4 separate regions of the Homo sapiens genome follow, and all the other regions are linked to region 4. Evidence: promoter capture Hi-C in human tissues and cell types (Jung and others, 2019). All regions are on one chromosome and are shown on one strand. Each heading gives the region's core, a stretch centred on a gene start or on the middle of the fragment in contact. The rest is flanking DNA. Distances are from core to core; before and after follow the strand shown. Region 1 overlaps MYT1L (myelin transcription factor 1 like). Region 2 has its middle 340 kb from the start of MYT1L. Region 3 has its middle 360 kb from the start of MYT1L. Region 4 holds the start of MYT1L (myelin transcription factor 1 like).

Evidence for each region. Contacts are between HindIII fragments. The study calls those that stand out against the background at their distance.
Region 1: a fragment that was not itself captured here is called in contact with the fragment with the promoter of MYT1L in region 4 in 1 of the 25 tissues and cell types used here (hippocampus).
Region 2: a contact is called between a fragment that was not itself captured here and the fragment with the promoter of MYT1L in region 4, in 1 of the 25 tissues and cell types used here (dorsolateral prefrontal cortex).
Region 3: a contact is called between a fragment that was not itself captured here and the fragment with the promoter of MYT1L in region 4, in 1 of the 25 tissues and cell types used here (H1 embryonic stem cells).

Annotation. Positions count from the first base shown.
Region 1 is chr2:1,892,552-1,899,076 of GRCh38, forward strand. The region is part of intron 14 of MYT1L (myelin transcription factor 1 like); the gene reads right to left. Among named protein-coding and RNA genes, the nearest start is that of PXDN, 150 kb to the left of the region's middle. The HindIII fragment of the contact is 6,948 bases long and covers 1-5,309 here.
Region 2 is chr2:2,668,902-2,675,359 of GRCh38, forward strand. No RefSeq gene overlaps it. Among named protein-coding and RNA genes, the nearest start is that of MYT1L, 340 kb to the left of the region's middle. The HindIII fragment of the contact is 4,186 bases long and covers 273-4,458 here.
Region 3 is chr2:2,687,862-2,693,791 of GRCh38, forward strand. No RefSeq gene overlaps it. Among named protein-coding and RNA genes, the nearest start is that of MYT1L, 360 kb to the left of the region's middle. The HindIII fragment of the contact is 4,500 bases long and covers 1-3,540 here.
Region 4 is chr2:2,327,008-2,333,720 of GRCh38, forward strand. MYT1L (myelin transcription factor 1 like) reads right to left here and starts at 4,268. Exons shown (of 25, transcript NM_001303052.2): 1 at 3,960-4,268. MYT1L-AS1 (MYT1L antisense RNA 1) reads left to right here. Exons shown (of 2, transcript NR_024468.1): 2 at 1-101. The HindIII fragment of the contact is 11,173 bases long and covers 1-6,713 here.

The sequences.
Region 1 (6,525 bases), core at 586-3,085, 440 kb before region 4:
GGAGAGGCTGCACCTCACACCCAGCACAGGCGGTCACCTGGTCCCTCGAAAGACAGACACACGGCTGGCTAGCTTTTAGGAGCCGCAGGGTGTAGGGAAGTGACTGGGAATTCCAGCCCAGTCAAATCCCAGTCGAGGCCCTAAGCGTGAGTGGGGCTCCTCCGCAGCACATGAGGGCTCGTGAGCACTTTTGGTGACCCAACCTGGATCCGCGGTCCCTTATCTGTCAAGAGGTGGGCTGTTCCTTTCAGCCAGAGGGGCCCCGGCAGCCACCTTCTGGGCCTGTGGGGACCACGTGCTTTGGGAGGTGGATTTCTGGCTGGGCATGCAGACCAGATAGGGTGAGTCCAACATCCTTTTTTTTCTAGAATTCTGATACAGGCCATGGGAGTGAAACGGGGAAATGCACATAGAGAATAAGCTCAGGATAAATGTCGAAACACCTGAGTGGCCACTTGGTGGTGGCAGACACGCGGGGCACGTGTGCAGCTGCCTCTTTCATAGCCACGGCCTCTCTGTTCCCTGCACTGACCCTCACTGACACGATTCCCACTGCCCAGTAATCCTTTCTGAGCCACCACACTCACTAACAGCCAAACCAGCACTGAGGGGCAAGGGTTATTTGTTAGAGCTATTTAAATCTCCTTTAGTACATGACAATGTTTCAGTCCAGGATTTATCCGATGGGTCCTTCTTTACTAATTGTTATCCCTGCCAGTTAATGTCACAGGACTTCATTTGTGCATGGCCAGACATTTCTCTTGGAATCCAGCAGAGTGAAGAGTTACTCAGAGGTGGACCTGGTCTCTCCCATGTCCTAAATCCCTCCGTCAGTGAGCCCCTCCCTTTAGGAAGCACCTTCTTCCCCAAGAGATCCCCGCCTGCTTCCCTGGGACCGTTGTGAGTGTAGCTGGGAGAACTTGGTGATAGGCTAGAGACACTCTAGCCCGGGTTCTCCTGGTGCTTAGGGCTGCCCTAGTCCTAATCGGCAAAGCTCCAAGCTGCCTAATTCTGATGGAAACTATGGTTTTGTCTGTTGCTACAAGGAAAGGGAGACCTCGCAGTTGGTCATGGCTCCTGCGGTGTCTTCTGTGCCATCGGCAGCAGCTCTGAACCTGGAGCCAGGCTTCCCCAGGGACTCCTTCCCACAGAGGAAGAAGAGAACAAAGCTAAGTGAAGCAAAAAGCTTTCTCACATTGCTGATACGGTCATTATGAGCAATGCTAAGAAATTGCCCTGGATTTGGATACAAAGGGAAAAAAGAAGGAGTCCTCATTGACAAGGTTTGGTTTGGGACTGAAGGCTCTCAGGACATGGGGAAGAGGTGTGTTATTGGTGATTCTGTAATGCACAGGCCTCTGCAGAGGAAGACTGAGGACAGTGCCCAGGCTGGGAGTTGGCCAGGCTGTCTTCGTCTCAGCCTCTGCCAAAAGCTACAGAGAATTCCCCAAGCAAGTAACCGCTTTACACCCAGATTCCTGTGCATGAGCCAGAGGCTCAAATCCGCACCCACAAAACCCATGAAATACAATAGTAATCTGTTGATATTATGACTGTGTTTTGCTAATCTGAATGAGCAAAGCCACTCAGAGTGGGCCCATGGCTGGTGGGGCACAGCTGTCCCTGAGAAGCGTGTCTGAGTGTCCCTCAGTGTGCCCCTCCCTTCTCTCTACTTTGGGATGCCCCTCCTCTAGGGAGCCCAGCAGTGCAGGGCGGGGTGGGCAGTGGCTGCTGGTCTGAGCAAGGCCCACACCAGGGCCTTTGAGAGAGACCACCGTGGGGCTGCAAAGGAGTCAACCAGAGGGAGACAGCAGAGGCTGTAAGGGCACCCCCACGGGCCCTGTGCAGTGCACACCTTGATCCACCCTAAGCAACCGTCACAAACCAGTTTGCAGTTTGTGATACTTTGGATATGAACTAAAGGTTGTGATTTTACATAATTTACAATTTTGTTAAGAAATAGTAGAATAATTGTAGGAGAAATGAAATAATAATATGGGGTTTTGTTTTTACTAGTGAGGGCTAGCCACTGGTTTAGGAAAAAAAAAAACATTGCCCACATAAATTAAAAAAAATAACACTTTTGTTTTGAAATGAGGGAATTTCAATTCCTAAAAAAAATTAAAGGAATAACACAAGTTAATGCAACAAACAACGGCAGCTGACATAGGTCGGCTGGCAACCTTGCACTCAGCGTTGGTGAGGGCGATGCTCAGGAGTGTGGGTGTGGAGGTGTGGCAGGAGCTCCCGCTGACGCCCAGAGACTTCTCGTCATGAGCCCCTCTCACAGTGACTCCTGCTACACTGTGCTCACAGCATCCTCCAACAGGATTGCATCTAGACTTCCACCACCCTGTAAGATGCTACCACATGCCTGCTTCACAGATGTGGAGACTGAGGCTGCCCAACGTCCACAAAGAGCCTCGACTGCCATCAACGATGTGTTTGTCTGGGAGAGTTCAGTATCTTATCAATTAGAAAATGCTACCCCAGCATCTCTATACACCAATAACATCCAGGCTCACCATCAATCAAGCAGGCAATCCCATTCACAGTAGCCACAAAGAAAAGGAAATACCTAGGAGCACAGCTCACCAAGGAGGTGAACAATGTCCACAAGGAGAGCTACAAAACACTGCTGAAAGAAATCAGAGACGACACAAATAAATGGAAAAATGTCTCATGTTCATGAATTGGAAGAATCAATATTGTTAAAATGGCCATACTGCCCAAAGCAATCTGCAGATTCAATTCTATTCCTATCAAACTACCAACGTAATTCTTTACAGAGTTAGAAAAACAATGATTCTAAAATTTCTATGAAATCAAAAAAGAGCCCAAATAGCCAAAGCAATCCTAAGCAAAATGAACAAAGCCAGAGGTTACACTCTACCTGACTTCAAAGTACACGATAAGGCTACAGTAACCAAAATAGCTTGGTACTGGTGTAAAAGCAGACACACAGACCAATGGAACACAATAGGAAACTCAGAAATAAAGCCACGCACCTACAACCATCTGATCTTTGATAAGGCCAATGAGAACAAGCAGTGGGGAAATGGTACTGGGATAATGGCTGAGCTATTTGTAGAAGAATGAAACTAGACCCATACTTTTGCCATATACAAAAATTAACAAGATGGATTAAAGATGTAAATGTAAGATGTCAAACTATAAAAATCTGAGAAGAAAACCTAGGAAATACCCTTTTCAACACTGGCCTTGGCAAATATTTTTTTTGACTAGGTCTCCAAAAGCAATTGCAACAAAAACAAAAATAGACAAGAGGGACCTAATTAAACAAAAGAGCTTCTGCACAGCAAAAGAAACTATCAACGGAGCAGACAGATAACCTACAGAATAGGAGAAGATATTCACAAACTATGTCAGATGACAAATGCCTAATATCTGACATCTATAAGGAACAAATACTTCAACAAACAAACCACAAATAACCCCATTAAAAATGGGCAAAGAACATGAACAGACACTTCTCAAAAGAAGACATACAAGTGGCCAACAGCCATGTGATAAAATGCTCAACATCACTAATCACCAGAGAACTGCAAATCAAAACCACAGTGAGACAGCATCTCATACCAGTCTGAATGGCTATTATTAAAAAGCCAAAAACAGCAGATGCTGGAGAGGCTGTGGAGAAAAGAGAACACTTATACATTCTTGGTGGAAATGCAAATTAGTTCAGCTACTGGACAGTAGTTTGAAGTTTTCCCAAAGCACTTAAAACAGAGCTACCATTAGACCCAGCAGTCCTGTTACTGAGATTTACCCAAATGAAAATAGATCGTTGTACCAGAAAGACACATGCACTCGTATGCTCATCACCATGCTCTTCACAATAGCAGAGGCACAGAATCAACCTAGGCGCCCATCAGTGGTGGATTAGATAAAGAAAATGCGGTACATAGACACTCTGTGATACTATGCAGCCATAAAAACAATAAAGTCTAAAGTCATGTCATTTGCAGTAACATGGATGGTGCTGGAGGCCACAAACCTAAATGAATTAATGCAGGGACAGAAAACTTTGTACCACATGTTCTTACTTGTAAGTGGGAGCTAAACATAGAGCACACAGGGACATAAACATGGGAACAATCGACACTGTGGACACTAGAGAGGGGAGTGGGTTGGAGAAATACCTCTTGGGTACTGTGTTCACTACCTGGGTGCAATATGCCCGTGTAATGAACATGCACAGGTACCCTCTGTATCTAAAATAAAAGTTGAAACAAAAAAGAAAAATGCTACCTCTATGTGACAACATTTTACTTGAAAGAATTTTTAACTAAAACGACTCTCTGCATTTCTTCCTCTCATCTTACTTGAATCACCTTAAATTATCCTGAAGTTATAAAATGTAGATGTGACGATGCATTGACTTTCCCAGATATTTAATTCATAAGATGCTACAACTAGATGACGCCAAGTGGATGGTACCGAATTTTAGTCGGTGACTGAACTGTCAAGAGTCTTTTGATGTGCCTATCAACTCACTGCACTCAAATGGGCAACTAAGACAGTATCTACTTTCACATGCATCCTTTACTGAATATAAAAATGTCATTTAAAAGTTTTAATTAAAACAAAAATAAAAATAAGAGGGCCTACAGTTAAAATTGCTCAGGAAAGGAAGGTCATTGGTCCTAATAATTATCCCTATTTGTAAAATGTCAGCACAGCCCTTCATGCCAGTATCTTTTGGACCACAATCAGCATTGCTCGGCTCAGTGCCCTGACAGCAGGGGGCGCTGCAGAGCAGGGGCTTCAAATTGAGGGTGCTCTGTTCCCCCTCTTCCAGCACAGAGGATGCTTGGTCTGATGAGAGCAGTTTCACAATGACAGAATGCACTTTCTTTTTCTTTTCGCAAACAAAACTTTTTTTTTTTTTGTTTGTTTGTTTGTTTTGAGATGGAGTCTCACTCTGTCACCCAGGCTGGAGTGCAGTGGCATGATCTCAACTCATTGCAATCTCTGCCTCTCAGGCTCACGTGATTCTCTTGCCTCAGCCTCCTAAGTAGCTGGGATTACAGGCGCCCACGACCATGCCCGGCTAATTTTTGTATTTTTAGTAGAGACAGGGTTTCACCATGTTGGCCAGGCTGATCTCAAACTCCTGACTTCAGGTGATCTGCCTGCCTTGGCCTCCCAAAGTCCTGGGATTACAGGCATAAGCCACCACGCCGGCCCAGAGCTATTTTTTGATCAAATTTTTTTTCAGTCCATCAGCAGACAAGAATGTGTTAATGTTCTTCCAGGCGCCCAGAACATCACTGTATGTTACGAGCAATGCAGCAGCTTTAACTCTAGATGCCAGAGCTGCCTTCAAACAGGAGCAGCCGCTGGATCTTAAACCATCCTAAAAATACCTCTTCAACTATTCCATTTCCTCTACTGCAGGAAAAAAGGAAAAGCACACAGGATTTGTGTGATTAAATACAGCTGTTGATGTAATAATAATAAACAAAACAAAAAAATACAAAACCTTCCAGGTAGGACCTTTTCATTCACCTACTCTGCTTGTGAAATTCTTACTAAATGTACATGCCTTGTTCTAGAAATGCCTATTGCCTTATGTATTCACCTTTTCTTGCAGAGAATAGATAAACATGTCTCCACAATATGAATTTCCATGAAAACCAGACAAATGCAATCACAAGATGTCCATCATGGAGATGTCTCCACTAGCTGGGACCCAGTGATCTTTAGACCTAACTTGATTCAGGTCCTAATCTGTGGCACTGAGTCTCATAGTCTTTACACACGTCCAACTAGTGTTTCAAGTAAGTTGAAATACGGACGTCTAATCTTACATGGGAAAGAATGGAGCTTTCTAGCCTGTGGGATGACATCTCCAAGGCACACGGTCTACTTGCTAGAGTTGAGCTGATGTCCAAAGGGCGTCGAGGTCCAGGTTTCAGGCTCTCTTTTCCTCAGTGTCCTTGGCACAGCTACTGCCTGCCTGGCCTGCCCTGGCCCTAGAGGGTGGAGCGAATCTGCAGACCCGGCCTGTGACCTAGCAGGAGCTTGCGGCCCGTGGGAAGACAGGCCGTCTTGGCAGGTGGTACCCAAGAGGTGACACAGCCATGCTGCAGGGCAGAGTGTGGCACCGAGCTCCATGGACGCAGGCAGCTGGAGAGTGGTAGGAAGGGCCGCGGACTGCCTGCAGGAGGAGAAAACTTCACCAGGGAGCGGCCTCTGCTCAGGTAGAGAGGCCATGGGGAAGTCGGGCAGGTGGAGGGAAGAAGGGAGCTCTGCAGGCGGGCGTGGTGGGGCTGGAGACAGAGGGCCAGGGAGGTGCACTCCAGAGGAGTCATGAAGGAGAGAATGAGCTGAGTCTGCAGCTGCCCAGGCAGTCAGGGGAGTTGTCTGTGTGGCCAGGAGGGCAGGGAGCAAAGAAGAGGAAGTGCCAAGATGATAGGAAGGTCTGAGCGCTGGAGAATTTGGAAGCTGGGAATAATCAAAAGGAGAACATGGGCAGAGCCCATTTGGGGGCTGGTAACC
Region 2 (6,458 bases), core at 1,116-3,615, 340 kb after region 4:
TTCTGGCGGCGTGTGAGGGGTCAGAATGATTCACAGAAGGGCCCCGAGGATCAAGGAGGTGTCCAAGGGGCTGCTGCCAGCCAAAGCTCGGAGTGAAGCTGCATTCACGGAGCCCAGGGAAACGGCAGGAGCCTCACTTGGGGCGACGCCTGGTCCAGGTGCAGCCACAGCGGGTTTGCTGCATCTCTGTGTGGAGCAGCCACAGCTCAGGTTCTGTTCCCCCCACCCCCCTTATCGGGCTCCAGTCAGGCCCCAGCACACACATGGCCCGGTGGTGGGACACGGGTGTCAGGTAGCTGCTGCAGGGCAGGGCTGAGCAAACAGGATGTACCTGCCCCTGGCTCAGGTGGGCTCAGGCCCCTTCATGCAGCGAGGAGTCAGGGCCCCCGAATCTCTGGGAGGACGCATCCTAGGGGATTTCCTCCACGGTGTTGGAATTGAAGGACTTAATGACGTCCCTTCCCATGCGCACAGTGTCCCAGGCACGTGCCTCAGCCTCACATGCCGGGGCACAGGGCTGCCCTGCGAGGTGGGAGGAAGACCTAGGTGAGGACCCGGAGCCAAGGGCTTTCCTGACCGTGAAATTGCAGGTGAGGACCTGGAGCCGAGGGCCGGTTCTAGCTGCTCCAAGCGCCCGAGGGCCAACGTTGGCAGTGGCCTCCAATGCCCTGAGCCTCATGACCCTTCATCAGCGTGACTGGTGACAGTGGCCACAGGCCTGCGGACCTGCCTGGCCAAGCGGCCTGGGGGAGCTGGCCCATTGAGTTTCTTTCCTGGTCACTAGGAACTAGAACACAGAGGTGTGGGTTGGCTTCTCTGGATGCTTGAACTGAGAAAAGTTAGAAGTCAGATGGGACCCAGAGAGGGTGGAACATTTTTGAGCTATAAAAACGAGAGAATGGGACAGAGCAGAGAGGCAGCAGTGGAAGGTGGGAGTCCGAGAAGAGGGACAGAGTCACAGAGGGAGAGCAGGACCCCTGGGGCCCCACACCCCAGCCCTTCATCCAAGCCTGAGAGGGGTTTGTGGCCGCTCCCACCCCTGGAGCCCCTGAGCTCGGACCGCATCCCCCGACCCCTTGAGTCCCTGAGCTGGGACTGAGTCCCCCAACCCCTGGAGCCCCTGACCTGGGACCACATCCCCCGACCCCTGGAGCCCCTGACCTGGGACCACATCCCCCAACCCCTGGAGCCCCTGACCTGGGACCACATCCCCCAACCCCTCAAGTCCCTGAGCTGGGACTGAGCCCCCCAACCCCTGGAGCCCCTGACCTGGGACCACATCCCCCAACCCCTGAAGCCCCTGGGCTGAGACTGCGTCCTTCAGTGATCTCAGCTTCGTGTTTCTGAGCTAACGGCAGCACATTCCAACTCCAGGATTGCCGAGCTCGTGTTCATCCCTGAGCTTTATCGAGTGTTCTCCATGGGCCAGTTACCCCCCATTCATTCTATGTGTGCCACTTCAAGGAAGATTCATGTCTCGCCTACCATGAGAATACTACTTCATCTTGTCCCCATCGTACACATTTTAAAATCAGAAAACAAAAATATGAGACAGAGAGAAAATGGGTGGTGTGCATGACACAGCAGGACCAGGAGGCCACAGAGTGCCTGGCCGGTGCAAGAGGGAGAAGCCTAGGGCTCTGCACTGTCCCACGGAGATGGAGCTGCCCAAATGGAGCAGGTCGCCCTGACACTGAGCCGGTCTCTCCTCCTCTAATTCATGCTTAATTGCCTTTCATGAAGCCAGCTGTACAAGGCAAAATGCCTTTGCTGGGCTGCCTTTTGAAAAGTTCTGCTCAGTTCGTCTCCCGCTCTCCATCTTGGTTCAGCCCAGGCTGCCATCTCCCGTTCCTTCACCACTGCAGCCAGGCACCTCTCCAGAGTCAAGTCCAACAATGCTGGTCCTCACTTCACTGTCTTTATGGTTCCCCAGAATCGACCTCCAGTCTATTTCCATATTTTCAGGGTTCTTTATCACCTGACCTCTACCTGAGTTTACTCCTTCACCCTGTCACCCCAAATCCAACTTCACAACCCAACCCCAGAGCCAGCACGACCTTATTTGCTCATGATACTGACAAAAACACAACAGGAATTCCTGCCTGGTGGAGCCTGCAGTGTCTGGGGGAGACAGACAATGAAGAGTGAACTGAATGAATGAGAAAGCATAGAGTTTGTTAAAGGTTAAATGTGCTGTGAAAGAAAGAGGAAGCAGAGGGGTCCAGGAGGCCCAGGAAGGTGAGCGTGGGGGATAAGCAGAGTCAGCGAGGGTGGCCACGTCACCCCTATTGAGAAGGAAGTGTTTGAGGGAAAGCTTGCAAGGATGGGGGAAAGAATCCAACAGGCTCTGGGGGAAGAATTCGAGGCAGACAGAAAAGCCATGAGAAGGCTGGGCGTGGTGGCTCACGCCTGTAATCCCAGCACTTTGGGAGGCCGAGACAGATGGATCAGGAGATCAAGACCATCCTGGCCAACATGGTGAAACCCCGTCTCTACTAAAAAAATACAAAAGAAATTAGCCAGGCTTGGTGGTGGTCACCTGTAGTCTCAGCTACTTGGGAGGCTGAGGCAGGAGAATGGCGTGAACCCGGGAGGCAGAGCTTGGAGTGAGCCGAGATCACGCCACTGCACTCCAGCCTGGGTGACAGAGCAAGACTCTGTCTCAAAAAAAAAAAAAGAAAAAAGAAAAAAAAAGAAAAGCCACAAGAAGGACCTTAAGGGAGCTGTGGAAGAAGCACTTCACAGGGGGAAGATCGTACCTTCAGTTCCGGACGGGCGAAGCTGGAAAAGCCTATTTGACACTCAGGCCGGATGTGAGGTAGACAGAGCAGGAATGGGTGTGAGCTGGAGAACATCTATCAGCTGGTGAATCCTCGTCAGAGAGACATCGTTGAAAATGGAGGGAAATGCTACGAAGACCAAACATTGAGCCCTGAGTCAAAAGGGCCACAGTTAAAAGGTCTTCAAGATGTGTAAGGACCAGCAGGGAGTCTGAGAATGAGCAGTGGGTTCAAAGGGAAACCAAGATGGCACCATGTTCTTCGAGCTGGTGAGTCCTGCTTTCCAGGGACAATGGGCCATGACTACGCTGAGGGAGTCCCAGAAGGGCAGCCGCATGGGGCCTTCGTCATCATGGGGCCTGGGCGAGGCAGAAGTCCAGCTGGAGTGAGTTTAAGACAGAAAAGAAGGGGAGGAATTGGAATTCACAGGATGACCCAAGGGTTTTACTGCAAAGAGGCACAGATCCCTGGAGCAGCAGCTGAAAGGGCGGATTGGGTGAAACACATTACTAACTAAAAAAAAACAGATGGCTACAAAGACCCAAGGAAATAGCATTGATCTGAGAAACAAAGAACTGCCATTTGAATATACTGAATCAGGGCAGCCCTGAAGAGCGTCTTGCGAGGCAGGCGCGTGAGGGGGTTTGGAAGGGGATTTTCACAAAAAGCTGGTTTTCGAGGCCTTTCCTTGATGAGGCCCTGAGTCCTACTCAGCCCCGCTGTCCCCAGGTCCTGGCCGTGGCCTGGTAATCACATGGCCCATCACCGTGTGGTGGACAAGAAGCTGCACAGCCAGAGAGTTAAGCAACTGCGCCAGCGCTGCCTAAGTCAGCCGCTCCATGGCAACGCCAAAAATCTCAGGGAAGCTGAAAAAGCAAAACCTTTAAGGAAGCCAGGTTTATATTGCATTTAGGGTCACTCTGTGAGTCCTGCAGCTGGGACTGGACACGGATACTCGTGTATCCTCCGGAAGAGATGATGGTCAGTTCTGAGGGCTGTGCCTGTCTCCAACATGGCCATTTGTTGGCTTGGCAGAGATCCTAAACTGCAAACCTGTTCTGCTTGGTGAGATAATCAGTGTGGTCCTAGTGAAGAGTTGTAGAAGGCTGGGGGACAGTGACTTCAGTTGCTTCCTCAAGTCTACCGGAGCATCTAGCAGGTGTGGGTGCAATGCTGTCACCATCTTCCAACCCCTCTTTAGAAAGCCTTAGTTACCTCACCTTCCACATGTTCCCCTTTTGATCAAGATCTTTATCCAGAAGGCATCTCAGATTAACCGGTGAGTCTGATTTTGTTCTTTGTCGCTGGGATATACCTGTCCCAGGGAGTCACGTTCCTTATCAGGGGGTCTCTAGGCCTATGGAAATGTAAGACTAGACTGTGTTACATTTGAGTTAACAGGTGGTTTTGAAAGGAATGCTGTCAAGCCTGCTTAGGTCCCCAGAATTGTCAGATCAGATGTGTTTTCCACATCATATGCTTGATGAATATCATATCGTGCTTCTAAGGACTGTTACTTTGGTTAAACTGATTTCTAAGCACACGTGGATAAGGAGAAGTGACTTAAGTTTTACAAAAATAACAGCAATAGTCACGAGACTGAGTAACAAAAGCTGAAGACTGGATTTTAGCCACCTTCCGAAGAGATCAAGTAGCCGAATATTCCATGGTGAATGCTTTATTTAGCTAAGTAGTGAGAATGTTTCCAACTCGGGCTCTACTTTTTTAGATGTATTTATTCCAGTATAACACGAGGTACTGGCTACAGCACTAGGGCAAGATAGAATTTAAAGTAATTCTGTTGTGCAAGGGAGTGAAAGACAAAAACTAGGAGTATAGAGAAAGCAACAGATAAGAAGCCAAGTATTTCAGGTATTTCCGGGAGCTTAATGATATCCAGGCCTGGCCCAGGGGTCTTGGGTGTGTGGTCACCTTTAGCTGTTCTCTGCTCCACTCCTAGGTCGATTTTAGCTTCAGGCCTCTAATTGTTTCTGAATTCCAGCAGGGGTAGGAACTTCCTTTAAATAAGAAGTGTGAATCCAGAGTGAACCTTTTAGTTTGGCAGCACAGAAATGGGCAAGGAGCACCTCATATGGACCTTTCTATTGAGGTTGAGGCAATGATTTTGTAAATTTTTCTCCCAAAAGGCAAAATCACCAGGAGGCAGGTTGTTCTATTTGCTGCCTTCATCTCCTGGAAGCACACTATGGAAAGATTGTTCTACCAGAGTATGATTTGCGTCTAAAGCCTTAATTATTCCTTGATAATGTTGGAAACTGTCTCCTTTGATGAACTGGATGTTAAAAGCAGAGTGGGCTAAATGTATTGGCCATCCAGTAATAATTTCAAAAGGTGACGAGTTATGTTTTCCAAAAAGTGCATACCTTAGACTCAAAAGGACCAGAGCAAGTACCTTTGTCCAGGGCAGCTGTAATGCCTCCTCAAATTTCACCAGTTGGGTTTTGAGAATGCCATTTGTTCTTTCTGCCAATAAGGAAGATTGGAGATAAGCACAAGGAAAGGGTTGAAATATGGGCCAATCTTGGCAAATTTGCTCTTTCTCATGGCCAGTGAGGTGCATTTCTCAGTCACCATATAAGTCTGAGGGTTTGCCCCATGTAGGATAACCTTTTCTAACAACAGCTTTGAAACCGCTGAGGTAGTGGCCTGTCAACAAGAGAGTGCGTCTACCCAAACGGAAAACACAAACCATGGTTTATAACCTTGATAGGGAGGTAGCTGGATGAAATTCACTGGCCAAATCTCAAAGAGTCCATTAGGCAGATCGAAGTGACCTGGAATTGTCTAAATGGTCTCTGCTGGGTTGAATTCTGGACAAACAGTGTGAGACAGCTGTGCCTCTGTAGTGGCCCTTGAAATGTTTCTCTAACAATACTTTATCATAGAATAGAAGTTCACCAGTTTCCCAGCAAATCATCTCAAGGATCATTTTCCTTAGGGGATCTTCATAGATCATGGTGATATTGGTTTATTAGTGGGACCATACCGTAAGTTTATCTTTGGGCCAAAAGTGCAACCATTAGTCCAATAAGATTTTTCTTTATGTGCTCAAGACTGAGCACCTTTTAAACCCTTTAAAAAGAACACCATTTAAATCCTTTTTGGAAAATAACCAGTACTAACTACAGGATTTTCAGTCTTTGTGGATCTCGAGGCAGCTGCCCTCACTGCATGATCTGCTGCATTGTCTCCTTTCCCCTCATCAGACTCCAGTTTTGAGTGGCCAGGAATTTTGATTACGGCCGAGGCAAAGAGAGGTTGAATTGAATTGAATAAATTATTGACAAAGGTTCATTTGTAATGTGGTTTCCTCCAGAGGTTAAAAATTCTCCATGTTTCCACAGCAGACCAAAAGCACAACCACAAAGTCATACATACCGATGGTGTAAATATTTGCAGTTTGACCATTCACCAGAAGACAAGTCCTGTGATCAAGGCATAAAGTTCTGCGTGTTGGGCTAAAGTGGCCATTGGCAGTGCTTCCACTACTTCACAGAGTGTGGGTATACCATACGTAGCACACTTTTTTCCTGCATTATCTGTTCTATATGATTGATTAGTAAACCATGAAATTCCGTCTGGCTTTGGGGTTTCTTATAAATTAACTCTAGGTTTTAGTCGTTGGTCAGTTACACGATCATGAGGTTTCTCATCATC
Region 3 (5,930 bases), core at 41-2,540, 360 kb after region 4:
TCCTGGCACTGTCACCCTGGCAGCCTCTCCTCCCCTGTGAGGGTGGATGGGACCTGCGGCTGGTTTCTACTCAGCAGAATGTGCCAGTTGCAGGGGTTAGGGACACCATGCCTGTGATCACACTGCACTACCCTGGATGCCGCCTCTCCAGGAGACTCACACTGGAGGTTCTCCTTGCTGGCTTGATGAAGCAAGAAAGACCTGCCAGCAAGGAACTGCGGATGACCTCTAGGAGCTGAGAATGACCTCGAGGAACTGAGGGTGTCCTCCAAATGATGGACAGCAAGGACCTGGGGCCAGTGATCCTGCAAACACTAGGAGATGGATTCTGCAACCACCTATGTGAGCATGGAGGTGGATTCTTTCACAGTCGAGCTTCTAGAGGGGAATGCACCCTGGTCAGCGTCTTAATTGCAGCCTTGTGAGACCAGAACCAAAGCCCCTGCTAACCTGAGCTCTGACTCCTGCCCCACAGGAACTACAAGATCATAAATACTGTTTATGCCACTGCATTGTGGTCATTTGTTACCAGCCGTGGATGACTGACAGGTGACAGGAAACCTCCTGGCAGCTCCTCTCACCTGCTTCCTCCCTATGTAGGGCCTCTCTTGACATCCCTGGCCACGAACGCAAGCCTCTTCCCAGCCCCACCACACTCACGGGGCTGATGAACTTTAGGCTGCCTGTGCTGGTTTTGGACAATTTCTCTCATTCTTCCCATTGGTGATTTGATATCCTACTTTCTCTCGGTTTCTCAGTGTGAGGGAGACCCAGACACATCACAGGTCTGTCCTTAGTGAACCGGGCACACAACTGGGGCCTGTTTCTTAGACCCCTTGCACACTCCACACTATATGTCTCAGCGTGGTGTCGAGTTTGTAGTTTGGTTCCTCCTGATAATATTCATGTTCAAATTGAGATGCTTCACCTCTTAGAGTAGCAAGGATACAATGCACTTTGTCAAAAAACAGTACGTTTGTTGTTGAATCAAATGGTCTTCCAGGGGGACGGCTTTTTGAAATCCTTGAAAATAGTGAATGGGAACTCAGTGGTTAACAGAACAAGGTGTCCTGGTCAACACGGCACAGGAAAAAATTGAGGGACAACCCTGAGTCTCCTCACAGTATAATTTCCCCATTCCCTTTCGAGGCCATATCTTCTGCCTCTCTGTTGCTGGGCACCTCGTCATTAAATCAGAGACGGGAGAGGCATTCGATCATCGAGATCATTTCTTTGCCAAGGCAGAATTGATCCCCGGAGGATGTTATGTCTTTGCCTGGTCTAATCTTCCGCATCTCGGGAAACTCCACCGCACCTCCAGGGACAACTTCCCGCGGAGTGAGAGAGCTCGTCGCCTGTTCTTCCTAATCATTCTACCAACTTTTTCCTCCTCCAATCTGCCCCATTACTTCAAGTCAAACCTCCTGTATCAGGTCTAATGAACCCTCACAGCCTCCCATTAACTAGTGCTGATGGCTCTTATGACCCCATTCTGTTGTCAGCCAAATTGTCATTTAATATTATTTATTCCCACAGTTCCTCTTGACAGCCTGGATGTTGTGGCGCTGAACCGTGTGGGTAGTCAGGTGCTCCTAATCCTCAGACAATGCTTGTTTTCTGAACCCTTTCTGAAGTAGGGATGTGCTTGCCAGCTGCGCTTACGCCCTGCGCGTGACGGTTTGCAGGGAGCAGGCGTCTAACGGCTCCGCCTGGGCAGGGACCTTCCCCAGAGCTCCTCAATGCTCTGCCCAGAGCAAAGGGCTTACCCGAAACCCTCCCGATCCATCTCAGCAGGTGCATTTGGAGAACAGAACTCCCCCAGAGCCTGCCTGATGTAAAACTAATGCCTTCGAAGTTTCAGAGCCAGGGATGGGGCTGTGGGGACAGTAATGACCAGGACACAGAGGGGCGTTTCCAGGGCTTTCTGTGTCCATCATTCCAGGGCACCAGCCTCAGACAGAGCCCTCTTGACTAGTTCTGTGGCCGGGGACACAGCGCTCATGAGGGGCCAGTTGTCTTCCTCCCAATCAGGTGCCCTGGGGAGACATCAACTAGGAAGACCCCCAAGGCCCTCGTCTGTGGAGAAAGCCTGAGTGCCTGATGTGGCTCACAAGCCACTTCAAAGCCACCGCTGTGGCTGCTCGGGTGTGGGATCCGGCTGTCCTGCCCATTCGATGTTCCAGCCCCACCTGGCCTAGGTACTGCTAGAAAGGTGGGAGGGTCTCATCAGGCCACTGTGCTGGGTGACACCTGGGGGCTGCAGCATGGGGAGGAGCCGTGGAGTGCAGCAGGCAGCCCTGACCACTGCTTGGTAGGCTTGTCCTCACTCCCCCACCCTCCATGCATGGGCTGCTGTCCTCACTCCTCCACCCTCTATGCATGGGCTGCTTTCCTCACTCCCCCACCCTCTATGCATGGGCTGTTGCTGTCTGGGTGGGATCCTCCAGGGTGCCTCACCCATGGGAGCTTAGTCCGGCACATTCTCTGGTTCTGTTCTTGCCTTCTGCCTCCCATCTGCTGCCTCCTCTCCTACATCCTCTTCCCTGAGTTCACACCACCCTCTCTCCTCCCTACTCACACTGTTCCTGTTTGGCCCCAATCTCCATGAGCTGGCTTCTGGCACGGGGATGACCCCAGACCAGGGAGACGGCCCAGGTCCCTGTCCACAGCCACCTTGCTAAGCTCAAGTCCCAGGAACCATCAGCTAGGCAAAGCCTGGCCACATAAAGCAAAGAGTGGCTCTTGAAGGCCAGCATCCAGGACTGCAGGCTCCAGGCGGTCTGCCTGAGTGAGACCACACCCCAAATAGCACCTGAGGGGCATGAGCAGAGAAAGATGGGAATGGCTCACTGGTCAAACCCACAACTCTCACACTATCACCTGTCACACACATTCGTCACTCACACCCGTGGTTCTCAAAAGCTCACACCATTAATCTCTCACACATCTTCATGTCTCACACCTTCACCTCCCACACCCTAACCTCCCACACACATTCACATCTCACACCCTCCTTTCTCACTTCCTCCCCTCACACTCCCTCCCCTCTCACTCCCTCCCCTCTCACACCCTCCCCTCTCACTCCCTCCCCTCTCACTCCCTCCCTTCTCACTCCCTCCCCTCTCACTCCCTCCCCTCTCACTCCCTCCCCTCTCACTCACTCCCTTCTCACTCCCTCCCCTCTCACTCCCTTCTGTCTCACTCCCTCCCCTCTCACACCCTCCCCTCTCACTCCCTCTCCTCACTCCCCCCTCACACCCTCCTCTCTCACTCCCTCACAAAGGTAACTAAGGCATTACTGCCTCCCATCTAGAGAGCTCCAACCCCGGCCCAGGTCTGCCACTGTCATGTCCTGATTGATATGGTTTGGCTGTGTCCCCACCCACATCTCATCTTGAATTGTAGTTCCATAATTCCCATGTGTTGTGGGAGGGGCCTGGTGGGAGATAACTGAATCATGGGAGCGGTTTTCCCCGTCCTGTTCTCATGGAAGTGGGTAAGTCTCACGGGGTCTGATGGTTTTCTGAGGGCTTTCTCCTCTCACTTGGCTCTCCTTCCCTCATCTGCCACCAAGTAAGACGTGGCTTTACCTTATGCCATGATGGTGAGGCCTCCCCAGCCATGTGGAACTTTCAGTCTATTAAACCTCTTTTTTTCTTTATAAATTACCCGGCCTCAGGTAGGTCTTTATCAACAGCATGAAAACAGACCAATACGCTGAGCTTGAGCGAGGCACGGCACCGATGAGCTCTCCACTCGTGAGAATCAGGGATCGGGCTCTGTAAGGGTGACCACGCTCTGTAGATAGTCGGGTTTCCCAGAGCTGCCTCAGGGCCTTGAGAGGTTGGGATTAGACCAGAGGGCAGGGCTCTGGAGCCCCAACCCTTTTCTGTAAGTGGCCCAATCTTCTCAGTTTTTTATATTGGGCTTCATGGTTTATAATTCATGTCTGAGCACCATGGGACCAGACTTTTCTGAGGTCCCTCCATGGGTAGCCCTCCAGGACAGCTCCGAGTCAACACGTGGGTTCCTTCTCCTCCTGCAGATCATTCCAGGACACAGATACCTCCCTGTTCCCTGTGGCCAAGTCTGACTCATTCTTCCCAACTCAGCTCAGGTGTAGACTTCTCCATGAAGCCACCTGACAGCTGCACACTCTTATCCTGGAAACCTCCCACCCTGTGTCCATGCCCGGGATCCTCCTGCAGAGATGTGTCTGTCACAGAGTGGGCACTCTGCAAACGTTTGTACATGAATTGCCATGACAGCAGCCCAGGATGCTGCTCTCAGAGATCTTTGAGTTCTTTTCAGTCTCTGACCCAGGAGTATGGAGGCATTACAGCAGTTGCCAAGGGACCCACTTCATACACCTCTGTAAAAGACCTTTTCTGTTATAGGTCTCAGCAAATATCTGCCAGACTGAATGGGGAATGGTCCTGTGTTTCACTGGCTCTGACCCCAGCTCCTTTGTTTGCTGGACACAGATCTGTGGTGCAGAATCCTCAGTGAGCCTCTGGATGAGCCACCCACAGTCTGTCTTTCTGGCTCTGAAGCACCTGCTACCTCATCTCAAAAATACCACTGGATGGATTAACTGGATTCTGCAGCCCTTCTGATATCTTGTTAGAGAAAACAAGCGAACTAGAAATCCACTGGCTTTAACTTTCCTTCCCAAACACAGGCCTGTCCACTGGGGAAATCTCTCAGCTGCTGGGTTGGTATTTCTTTTCTAACAAACCAAAACAGTTACCTTCCTCTTCCAGGCACGGTGAAGAGAAAGATGACAACTTGGAGTGATTGGCTTATATCTCTCTGATTGTACTCCTTGGACCAGGGCTGCTAAGGGAGATAGACCAACACATTCCCAATCTAGCCGGATGCACCAGAAAGGCCATGTGTTCAGACTCAATTCTGCACGCCTCCCCCAGGCGGCTGCTCTGCACAGCCACAGCCTCTCTGGACACCCCCACCTGCCAGGTCCGCTGTGCTCAACTCTTCCTTCAACCCGGCTCCTCATCTCCAGAGCAGGACCTCTTCACTGCTTCCCACACTTCCTCCCCAGAAGGAGAGAATACACAATAGAAAACAAAGGAGACATAGAGAGAAAAGCGGAACTCAGCAAAGAGCAGAAAATGTAAGCGAGGGATCCCAGGAAATTGCATCTGAAGCCTGAATCGGCGTCTCCCTCGTGGACTGTTCACCATTCCCCATCGCTGTCTGGGAAGGTTGTCTCCATGGCAATGGGGACCACCTAGTTAGTTCCCAACTCGGTCTATCCTGGGAGACCCCGAGCAACAGTCTCTCTTCACCGTGGCTCCTGCCGGCTCCCTGACTAGCAACAGTCTCTCTTCACCGTGGCTCCTGCTGGCCCCCTGACTACTGGTCCTCATAGGCGCTTTCCAGACACCCACACCTTCTCGACAAGCCAGTGCAATCAGCTGCCCGAAGGAAGACACAGAGCTTCCATTTCCAAGTTGCTCCTGCCTGTACCCCACCACCTTATGCCATTAATAATGGCGGTGCCCCACCCCAGCACACACATCTGACAAGCACAGTTGGCCCGGGGCAAACTCGGCTTCACTGAGCAAAATGGAAACACAAGACAATTGCAACAGGGTCTTCCACTCGCCTCCCTTGCAAAACGCAAAGTTTCTCTCGTCTACTTTGGGAAGTCTGAGTGTTTTCTCTTACTCCAGGTTTACTTTCCCACCATTGTCCTGCCTAGCACACCAGGAAAATTTAGCAACAGCAGAAATCCACCTTGGACAAATTTTGTGAAACCTTCCTGCAAAATCATCATCCCCCTCAAAACCAACCATCCTCCAGACAGTCTTCACCATCAGGCTAGACACATTTCCTGTCTGGAATATCCACTTTTAGGCAGACTGAGGCTGGAACGAGGCAAGAGAACCGTCCAGCTCACAAAGCAC
Region 4 (6,713 bases), core at 3,018-5,517:
CACATTGCATTGAAATAGCCCACTGATGGAAAAAATGGATAGCTGTTGCCTTTAAATAATCTAATATCAGAAAAAATCATGCAATAAAATACTATAAAAGTAGAATATTTGTATTATTTCATATGAGTTATGGTCACTATAGGCAATATTTTAAATATTGGGGTGGTATGTCAATTTAAAATATCTTTTTCATACCAGCAACCATGATATGTAGATATGACACTGCCCCCAACCACACACACACAAACACAAACCTACATCTATTTACTTCTTCAAGTTTGTGGTATCTTTTGTCTTCAGTTTTGTTTGGAAGAAATGCAGATCAATGTCAGGTGTTGTGTTGTGGTACAGAATACAGTATGATGAAACTTAGCTTGGTGAAAAATATGTTATTTGCAAGTTTTTGTTCAAGTTTATCCTCAGTTACTCCTTTCTAAAGAATACTACACAACTTTTCAAATAAAAAAGAAGATATTCAAAAAAAGAACTCTTAAAAACTTGAAATAGGAAAATGCATAACATCATTGCGCTCAAATTACGCTATGGAGTAATTAGATTATAAAAATTTACCAAAACTGTAGATCTCTCTTTCTGAGTCTACCATTCATTTGCCTCCTGAACAGAGTTCTGGTGAGACTTTGCATCAAGGTAGACTTCCTGGCAAAGGACAACATGCATTGGAAACACTGGTTATTGATTGAAAATTATAGCCCTGGTCTAAAAGGGACACCCAGCCAAACCAAACTGTAAGTGCAAAGCAGAGTGGTCATTATCAAAGAGCATCTGACTAGTCCCTCTAATTCCACAGAGGAGTTTTTTTTAATATAAAATATTTAAGGGTAAATAAACCTTTAAGTTGTTTGAAGTTAAAATGTATCCACTAAAATATATAACAAGTAAACAAAGTCTTTCAGATTGTATATTATGTATTTCTAAAATAATGTCTCTCCCTCAAATTAAATTGGCTTACAGGTAGAGTTGGAAATCTAGTTTATGCATGTGACTTTGAAAACATTATTTACTTGACAAAATTAATTTTTCACAGAGAAGTAATTGGCTTTTAAAAATTATAAATGTAAAGTATTTATAAAAGCAGCTGAACAAATAATCAGATTATTAACTCAATTTTTTAATTTTAAGTATAATTGTAACAAATAGAAAAACTTTACAAATCTTTGAAATTGCATAATCACTTATTTCTTTTCCCTAATCTATTAAACATTGACACAGAAAGCAGACAGAAAACATCAGACAGTGAAATAATTGGGTATATTCAAGAGTAAGGTACAAAATAGAAACATTTTCAAGAGAGTAAAAAATAAATAAATAAATTAGGTGAAAAACATAACAGGGACAGTGAAAACAGCATATTAAAGAAGTCTCATTCTCTGAAACTATCCACATAGTCCTAAGGTCATGCTTTGACAGCTTTTATAACCCCGAAGAAGACTAGGTACTCATATTCCTTTAATAATTTTTGTACACCACTCATATGTGGTCACAAATCATTGGGCCTTTACCTTGATCTCAGCTTCTAACACAAATTTGTGAAATTGGCATAAGTTCTGCTGTTGGATGCAAGTTTAACTCAAGAGAAGTTGAAATTTGTGTGTCATGCATACTTTCTACCTTACTGTGACACCAGATAGTCCTGGTGCATCTTTTCAAAGATGAATTTTATTAATAATTACATGTATTTGGATAAAATTTTCCAGTTGAAAAGTAATAATGTTTACAATTTTCCAACCCACAACTATACATATATACAAGTAATTTTTAACATATTGATATGTTTGAATATTTGGAAATAGAGTAAAATATGTGTATAATGGCAGATGGAAAGTCTTTACTAAATAAAAATGTTCAAGTATAGATATCTTTGCTGCCACCATCTTCAAAACATCCAAATGTGACCATGAAGGCTTCTCCTACTTCTACCTCAACTAGCACAATCATTAAGGTGATGAAAGTGAGCCATTTTCACATTGCCAATAAACTAGGAGGAAGTCAGTCACTGTTGAATGCAATCGCTATCAGCTGCGGACAGCTCCTGGTGCTGAAAGGGAAGGCAGAGAAGCCTGCTCACAATAGCTCACTCCACCAGCCTTTGAAAAATCACAGCAAAACTGAATGAGGTGGCAAGTGCTCAGCCTGAATAGCACTGTCTACAGAACAATGGCAGCCAACTCTAAATCCTACTATAATCACATTAATGAGATTAATCAGTGAATTAGCAGCAGTCAAATGTCAGGGAGGCAAGGAAGAATCCAACCAAGATTGGTAATTAACTTTTTGTGGGTGGGGGTGGGGAGGAGAGAAAAATCAACTGTGCTATCTCATAGGTTTTTTTAGATGTTGATAATTTTGATTCACGAATCTGAAGACTATATGTACAGATCAAAAGACAACAACATAATCCTTCATATTATAATATAGATCCAGATCTCATATTACTGATTCTTATAGTCCTCTGAGAAAGCTGATGTCACTTTAAATAATCTTCATAATCTATCAGAATTTTATTGTTTTAAATTCTTTAAATGCACAATTAATATTTAAAATAAACTTATTTCTCTGAAAATCAAGCTAAAATATAAAGAAATATGGCTGATTAAAAGCAGAAGGATTATATAACAACTGTTATTGTTTATGAAAAGTGTATGATAGTATGGTAAGAGTTTTCAAAGTGCAATCAAGTAAAGTACCATCACACACACACATCAGTAGTGGTCTATGTTAGTTAATAAAGAAAATTTATCACTCAAGTATAACTTTAAGGAGACTTTTAAGCAATTAACTTACTGCATTTGAGGTGATAGAATCATACATGTTCTTTTAGGTCAATCAGAAAAAACAAACTTCCTTTTTTTCTGGAATGTTTCTCTTAGTAGCATTTATAACTTACAATCAACACTTTGGATTCAAAGTTCTTGAGAGGTGAAAACTTATAGGAATGCAATGCTGTTTTTTTTTTTGAAAAGGAATATTTTATAAAACTCTTTTCTTTTAAAAATAATTACATTTTTATCTGTATGGGAGACATGACTTTATTATTTTTAAAGCTACATGACACTAAATGAAGATGAACAATTAGAAAGACCCTCATATGCCAGTAAGGGTGGTTTTGGGATGCTTTGGTCTATGACGTTAATTTTGTTTAGTAGAAAATATAAACATTTGAACAAAAAGGCTCTTATATAAAATAGTTTTACTCTAAGTAACTTAGAAATTATTTAGCTTATATAGCTTTGATGGTACAAGAAATTGTCATGGTTAATACTAAATTCAAAATCTGTTCTCTATATTTTATATAGCTAACTTTCATATAAATATTTACATATATATTTTTGCTTTATTCAGATCTATCTTAAAACTAAAGTGTAGAGTTTAATCTTTTAGTTTATTAATTTAGGTGTTACAAAAAGACATATTTCTGTTATAAATAACATTTTCTTTCATTATTATGAACTTCAAACATTTAAGTTAAATTTAAAAATCTTTATTTGAGTTTCTCCACTTAAACAATATAAATCAACTTTCTTCTTACCATCAGGTAAATTCATCCAAAATAGCTAACATTTTAATTGCCTTTGCATAAAATGATGTGCTTCATTTGTAATGTAAAGTAATCCAGTAAAGTCTCTGGGAAGTTTTTGTTTCAGTATCCTCTTATCCTCCAAACACCATACATGCACCCCGTTTTGTTTTTGTTTCTTTTTTTCTTAATAAACAACATCACAGTTAAGTCATGCAACCTAATACCCATTTTAGTTTAAAGACAGATTTTTTTGTGGATTACAAAGCCTCCAGTCCAGGAACATTTCAGCTACCAGCCATGCTGTAAAAATAACTTTAAAAAGGAGCAGACAATGGAATAGCAGCCTCAGCCCTTGAGCTACGGTAAAACACATCCTGCTCACTAAGTTCCCCGAAAAATTAACCTAACGAACATCACGTACCTCACAATGACCACAACCGCTCACAAGCGAAAGACAAGTTCAATTTTGGTAACTGTGCTGGCTCAAAATACACAGACAGGGAAGAAAACCCTGTTCCACCACAAGTTTGAAAGGATGATGAGACACATGCATGCCACCAAGACGCAGAAAAGGTGGCTTTTTGTCTTCAGTGAGTATGGATATCATAACCCATAGTCCAGGGAATGAAAAAATTAAAATGCACCCACCAACAATGAGCAAAAAACCCGGGGTGCTTCAACAAGACTGCAGGGAAAAGCTCTCTCACTGTTTAGTGTGCAGTAGCTTAGGGAAAAAAAAAATGTCGCCCGGGCAGGAATGACAAATGCAGCGCGATAGGCTCGCAGGCCTCAGGGATCTGTTTGACTTCCACACACCCCCATGCACACGCTCCCACTCATCCTCTCCTAGGCTTTTTTTTTTTTCCACATTTTTTTTTCACAAGCTCCAAATCCCCGGCATATGACCTTCTGTTAAATAGATAAAAAAAAAAATTGCTTATCAGTCATGCAAATGAGGCTGAATTCATTTTCCACAACAGATGGCCTCATAGATAATGATGATGGAAGAGAGAAAATTGAATGTCTCTCACAAGGTGGCCATGGCAACCGAGAGCAGAATAATATCAATAATAAACTCACTGCATAATAAGGTTGTCAGTCCTACAAATCAAAGTCTCCAGCTAAATCAGGTATACCACCCCAGCTAGTTACCAGGTAAATAGTACACACACACACACACACACACACACACACACACACTTCCACAGAGTGGCTTGAAATCTTTCATGGTCACTGTAAAATGTGTACGTGTGTGTGTCTGTTGGTGGCAAGAAGGGGTTGGGGGAGAGAATAGTTGGATAATGAAATGACAATGTGACTTTTTTCTTTTCCTTTCCTTTCATTATGTTTTCTGCAATAGACTCGGTTTCATGCAGGACCTTCTAACTAGCCATATTGAAATCGGGATGCGGTGCTGAAGGCTTTCTCTCCTCCCTCTGCCTCCGCGCTCTCGCTCTGATGTGCTGCATTGATGCAATAGCAGCTCGCCTCAGGCTTCCACCTTGGCTCCCAGGGGGACATCCTGCAAAATGAATCAGCAGCCATCCTGAGCAGGCTGATTAAAATGAAAATGGCAAGGCACATGTCTGGGCGGAACTGGAGCTCAGCTTTGCTGCTTGTCTGGCAAGCATGCTCAATATAGCTCTTGCTAATAATGGCTTACTGCCTTTCATTTTTTAAAAAGGTATCACCCTTTTCCCCCTTCACTGACTGGTGTTGTCTGTGTGTGTGTGTGTGGTGTGTGTGTGTGTGTGCACGTATGTGTGCGTGCATGTCGCGGGGGGAAACGAGAATGGATGGTTCTATTCTTCTAATTTTCTGCTGCTCACATGCAGACTGCCTGCCTGACAGCACCATTATTTTAACACTGAACTTACTTCAGCTTTTCTTTTGGGACAGGGTGGGGGGGCGGTTGATAAGTCTTGGGGCAGAAGGGCTAGTTTTAAAATCAAGCTGCCTAAAAGGCCCAGACAAGATTTTTACACTCCAGATTCAATAATTTCTAACCAAATCTGAAGCAACAGACCTCGAGAGAACTCCGATGCTCTGCTTCACAGGCTCACAGTTGGACATGCTGAAACACAGCCTATGAAGAAACCTATTTCTGTTTCGAGCATTTGCAACCAGCCTGTTACTGTATCCTAGATATTATGCAACACAGAGAATTAAAACAGAGAAAGCTACTAGCTAATAAAATAATCGAACACAATTGAAAAAATAAATCTTGGATATTTTGTTGTTTAAAATTCTCAGGCATAGCTTCAAGATTGCCCTCAAATAAGCTTTACTTTGCAGCACCTCTGCCGAGTATTCCAGGGTTTTTCAAGGCATTCTGGAAATTAGACCATTATCACCTCTCAAAAAAATGGTTGAAAAATTAGAACGAATAATTTTTCTAAACTCATTTTACTCTACTTCTCCTATACATCTTATTCTATGTTATAAACAGTCTTTAAATTTTGCTAAATTGTCAGTTTTGCTTTCCTTTGGTAACAGATGCTTGATTTTTGTATAAAACTATCTATCTACTTATTTTTGTCTTTGTAATTCCTGTTTCTGAGACGTGATTTTTTTTTCTTCTGAGCTCTAGCCCTGTTGCTGCAGTGTGAATCAGAAATCAATAGCGCTGCCCTAATGGAGACTCCACTCGGCACGCGGCAAGGCAGCTGCAGTCTCCTCTCTCTCTTTCTCTCTCTCTCTTGCACACACACACACACACACACACACGGAACTAATGACGTCTGTGCAGCTTTTTCAGCTGATTGGGCACCACATCGGATGTTCTGTGGAGCAAAGAATAGGAGTCATTTACAGTCGGCGGAAAAAAAATGGGAGCATATATCCTTCTGTGTGTAAGACACTGATCCTGAGCTCCCCAGGCAAGCAGCATGTGGGTAAGGACGGTTCTTCGTGTTGTGGTCACCACGGGGTAAAGAGCGCCTCCAAAATGATTATAGAACTGGAACTGCAGTACAGTGGGAGTATTTGTCCATTTTGTAAAGGACAAAGCATTCCTCTAAAAAAAAAGTGAGCACAATAAAATTCCCACGCAAATGCGAGTGTTTAGGTCAAATCGTGACCTCCTGGGTATTATTTAGGCGTTTACATATACATTATATTATTACTTCCAAGGAATTCCAAATGTACTTAAAAAAATAAAGTTCAAATTAAATGA